Linked DNA regions of Homo sapiens: region 2 is linked to region 1. The links are contacts of gene promoters, found by promoter capture Hi-C in human tissues and cell types (Jung and others, 2019). All regions are on one chromosome and are shown on one strand. The core of a region is centred on a gene start or on the middle of the fragment in contact, and the rest is flanking DNA. Distances in the headings are between cores, read along the strand shown.

Region 1 (2,518 bases), core at 10-2,509:
CCCCCAACTTGCCCCATCCAAGCCCTGTTTTGAACAGAACAACTAGCTTTGGCCAGAGCAGAGCAGGGGGCCATTGGAAGGCTGACCCAAAGCAGACCTGAGACCTAGGCATTAGTGGTCCCTGTACACTGAGGGCAGGGGACCCTACAATAATGGAAGGGGGCCCTGGGGCTGGGCAGGCCTGGTGCTCCCCACCAGTGGGCTCCAGCACCCACCGGATAGCCCACTGTACAGAAGGGGACCCTGCGGGGCAGCTGCTGAGGGGGACTCCAACCCTGGTTACCCCGTGGGCTTCCTGGGGCTCTGAGGCCTGCTTCAGCCCCTGGCCTCACCACCCAGCCCCACTCACCGGGCCCCCTGGTGGCTCCTGGCGGACCCTTGTGTCCAGCTGCTGCTTTCGGACCTCTCCCCCGGAGCTCTCCCTAACCAGACGGCTGGGTTCCGTGACCTCAGGGGCTCCTGGGCCTCCCAGCTGGGGTAAGCCCCCCCATCGCAGAGCTCCAGCAGGACCTTGGGTCCCAAGACCTGGGGAAACAAGGCCATGGCTGCAGGCAGCTGCCCACCCTGGGGCAGAAGACTTGGGAATGGGGTGGGCATGCCTCATCCCCCACTCTGGTGTGGCCCCTGGAGCCCTAGGGCGATCCGGGTGGGAGGATCTGGCTGCCCTGCAGAGGCAAGAGCCCGCGGGGAGGGGGCCAGGAGCTTCACTCCCGCCCAACCGTCACGACTGCCCCCCCATCCGCCCAAACCCGCAGAGACCTGCAGAGCTGGCCGGTCGGCGGCAGGGGCAGGGACGCGGTGGGCCCGGCCAGCTGGGGACAGGTGGGTGGACGCACCTTCCCTCCTCTCCCGCTCCCCTACCCTCCCGCGCTCCGGACCGGCTGTCACCCCGAGCACTGCAGGAAAAGGTGGCTGCAGCAGCAAGCGCCGCACATCCCGGGGCGGGGGCAGGGAGGGGGCGCCGGGGCCGGGCGGGGGTCACTCACCGGGCGTGGGGAGCAGCGACAGCAGCAGAGCCGCGAACGCCCAGCGCCGCAGCAGCCTCATGGCTCGCTCATTCCTCCCGGTCCGGGGGCTGCGGCTGCCAGCGGCGCGGGGAGGGCGGGAGCAGGGACGGGGGTGGGGAGGCGCCAGCTGCGGAGCCGGGGCGGGGGCGCGGGGCCGGGCGGGGGTCGCGGAGAGGTGGGGGCGGCAGGGACGGCGCCGGGGCTCAGCGCGCTCCGGCCGCGGCCATCCCGGCGGGGCGGCGGGGCCGGGTTAAGAGCTGAGCAGCGAGCACGTGAGCCCAGGGCCCGCCCTCCGCTCTCCCGCCGCCCCCCGGCCCCCCCAGCCCCGCAGGGCCCGGGCCGCCGCCGCGGCAGGACAAAAGAGGCGCCGCCCCGGGGTCCCTCCTCGCACCTCGAAGTCTCCTCGGCAGGTGCGGGGCGGTGGCGCTCCGCGTACTTATCCCGCGGCCTCTCCTCGGCCACCTCTGCCTGAGCATCTCCGAGGACTCGTAGATTTGTAGGGGAGGGAAGCAGGGGACGGGGTACCCCCGGGGTCGACCCGGCGACTGCCTGTCTGGGGCCCGGGGGCAGGGGCGTGGCTGCGGCGCCCACGTTCGCCCCTCTGTCGTGGTACCCCAGAGAGGCTGCCCCAGCCCCAGCTTGGAGCGCCCCGCTTGACCCCAGGCTGTGGAAGCTGGGGTTGGGGTGGGCAAAGGCTCTTGGCGAACGCCGGGCTCTACGCCTCTGGGATTTCTTGCACCTTCGCTACGGGTCGTGTCACTGCGGAGTCCTCTCACGCCCGCGGTACAGACCCCTTCCCATCGGCTCCTTCTCCCCGCCAAAGATGCCCCGGCCTCCAGGAGGGCTTCAGGGATCGCTGTCACTCCAACCATCAGGAAGGGCTGGCATGTCCGTCTGGGTTCCTGAGTCTCTCACAGGCGTCCTGTCCTTCCTCCTAGATAAAATATAAACTAGCCAGGTCACTTATATGCTGCTAGCATGCCCCATGGCTCCCCCTCCCTTGCTAGTCCCAATCCTTAGGAGCAGAAGACACCTCTGGAGCCCCCCAGCATTCCCTCTCTGGTCAGACTAGGCTGCCCTGTCTGCAAAATACTTGACCTCCCAACCTACATTCCCAGCTGTGCCCTCCACCCAGCTCCTGGGGATGTTGGGTCCCAATACCAGGGCTGGGACCTCAGACTTCTGCTAGGGGTGCTGAAGGCCAGATACCTGAGATGGTGTGGGGTGTGGTAGGGCATGGTGGGTGGGCCGCTGAGTCCCCACCCTGACCTTTTTGGTACCCATGCTAGGGGACCACAGGTTGCTGAAGAACAAGATTGGAGGCAGGAAACCCCTTCCTGGGTCCTCTGCTTCCGCAAGGACCCAGGGCCTCTGCTGGGGATGAGGGAACTGCCTCTAGCTTGTGACACCCCCACCCCCCGCTCTATTTTAGGCCCAGGAGAGGTGAGAAGGCGATTTCCCAGGAGGCGCTGACATCAATGTAGGGAACCAAGTGACTCCCCCCACCCCCA
Region 2 (2,518 bases), core at 7-2,506, 140 kb before region 1:
TATATATAAAATAAATAAATAATTTCTTCAATCCCTTGACTGGGGTCTTGGGAGAATGAGATAAGCATAAATGCGATAGTAGCTTTTTAGAAGTAAAAAGAATATGCATGTGAAAGTTTCCATAATAATTTACATTTAATTATTGGTCCTTGGAGCTCCAATTCTCTCTCTACATTCAGCACCCAGCAGGTGGCATTGAGGGAGTTGGAGGTATCAGTCTAATCCAAGAAATATCAGCATCTTAAAATTAAACATCCCATTCAGTTAACATTTATCCAGTTCCTACTTATGCAAGGTGCTGTCTTGGCTATTGGCTGTGTTAGCATTGGTACTTTTTTCTCAATTATTTAAAAATGTAAAATGTGGCCGGGTGCGGTGGCTCACACCTGTAATCTCAGCACTTTGGGAGGCCGAGGTGGGCTAATCACCTGAGGTCAAGAGTTCGAGACTGCCTGGCCAACATGGTTGAAACCCCGTCTCTACTAAAAATACAAAAATTAGCCAAGTGTGATGGCGGGTGCCTGTAATCCCAGCTACTTGGGAGGTTGAGGCAGGAGAATCGCTTGAACCTGTGAGGCGGAGGTTGCAGTGAGTCGAGATCGTGCCACTGCACTCCAGCCTAGGCAACAGAGCGGGACTCCGTCTCAAAAAAATAAAAAAATAAAAATGTAAAATGCATTCTTAGCTGGAGGACCATGCAAAAACAGTTGGAGGGGCCAGATTTGGCCACAGGTCAGAGTTTGTCAACTCTTGCTCTAAAGTATTAGGAGGTGAAGAGGCATTGTGTCAGCAGCATACTGTCAAATATTTGGGGAAAAGAAAGTTATTTGTACTGTTCTTGCCACTTTTTGGTATTATTTTAAAATTAAATTTAGTATCATAAAAGAAGTGAAGAGAAGAAGCAGGTGCATGGAACACAGGGTTCTCATGATCAAGGATGGCAAAAAATAATGCTAGCTAACGTTTATTGAGCCTAGGACTCTGGTAAATTCTTTTTTTTTTTTTTTTTTTTTGAGACGGAGTCTCTCTCTGTCACCCAGGCTGGAGTGCAGTGGCGCTGTCTCCGCTCACTGCAAGCTCCGCCTCCTGGGTTCACACCATTCTCCTGCCTCAGCCTCCCCAGTAGCTGGGACTACGGGCGCCCACCACCACACTTGGCTAATTTTTTGTATTTTTAGTAGAGACAGGGTTTCACCGTGTTAGCCAGGATGGTCTCGATCTCCTGACCTCGTGATCCACCCACCTCAGCCTCCCAAAGTGCTGGGATTACAGGCGTGAGCCACTGCACCCAGCTGGACTCTGGTAAATTCTTTACACAGGGTGTTTTATTTAATCCTCATAACCATTTATTCAGTGAGGATTATTCATTCCATTTTCCAGTTGAAGAATAGGAATCAGGTTGGAAGAGATGAAGTAACTTACCTCAAGTTACATAGTTGTTGGTGACAAAGTTGGGATTTGAATCTAAGTCTTCCAACTCCAGAGCCCTGATGCTCTAGTCTGTTATTTATTGCTTATAAACTATAGTTGGTGATGGTAATTAGTAACTACTATTTGTTTATTTATTTTGTTTATTTTTTTCGAGACGGAGTCTCACTCTGTCAGCCAGGCTGAAGTGCAGTGGTGCGATCTCAGCTCACTGCAACCTCTGCCTCCTGGATTCAAGTGATTCTCCTGCCTCAGCCTGCTGAGTAGCTGGGACTACAGGTGTGTGCCACCACACCTGGCTAATTTTTTGTATTTTTAGTAGAGACGGGGTTTCACTGTGTTAGCCAGGATGGTCTCTATCTCCTGACCTCATGATCCGCCCATCTTGGCCTGCCAAAGTGCTGGGATTACAGGCATGAGCCACTGTGCCCAGCCAGTTAACTACTATTTAAGACAAAATTAAATACTGATAAAGGTGCAAAAAGCTCTAGTAGGATAGAGGAATGAGAAATTGAGGAGCTAGGAAAGCTTGAAGGAGGTGGTGGCATTTGAACTGTTTCTTTGAATAGAATTTCAGTAATTGAAGTGGAGAAAACCCACAAAACACTACTTAATTACAAAGGGAAAATGAGTAACTTTACAATGGAGAGGCCTGGCAAACATCACCTTAATGAAGTGATCAAAGTTAACGTTACCACTAATGGGGCAAATTGAAATCATGTATCACCTGATACGAAATGCATTGAGAAGAACACAGCATCACTTCTATGATATTCCTGCCCAAAACGCATAACCTGAATATTATCATAAGGTAACATCAGACAACCTCAAATCAAGGGACATCCTTAAGGATTTCATGACAGTCCTTGGAAGGAAAGACTGAAGATTGTAGATCCAAAGACTGAAGATTGTAGATCCAAAGAGACTAGAGACATGACAACCAAATGCAAACATGATCCTGGATTGGATCCTTAGGTGTGTAAGGTATTATTGGAACAATCTGTGAAACTTGAATGGGATCTGTAAAGAAGGTGGTAGTAATGTGTGAATATCAATTTTCTGATTTTGATGGTTGTATTGTGGTTATGTA

The links. Contacts are between HindIII fragments. The study calls those that stand out against the background at their distance.
Region 2: a fragment that was not itself captured here is called in contact with the fragment with the promoter of ADAM11 in region 1 in 2 of the 25 tissues and cell types used here (H1 embryonic stem cells and lymphoblastoid cells).

Annotation. Positions count from the first base shown.
Region 1 is chr17:44,757,729-44,760,246 of GRCh38, reverse strand. It overlaps ADAM11 (ADAM metallopeptidase domain 11), which reads right to left and starts at 1,259. Exons shown (of 27, transcript NM_002390.6): 1 at 987-1,259; 2 at 350-525. The coding sequence starts at 1,047. RefSeq lists an enhancer at 1,067-1,618. The HindIII fragment of the contact is 11,776 bases long and covers 1-2,518 here.
Region 2 is chr17:44,895,711-44,898,228 of GRCh38, reverse strand. The region is part of intron 1 of EFTUD2 (elongation factor Tu GTP binding domain containing 2); the gene reads left to right. Among named protein-coding and RNA genes, the nearest start is that of EFTUD2, 2.5 kb to the left of the region's middle. The HindIII fragment of the contact is 4,028 bases long and covers 1-2,518 here.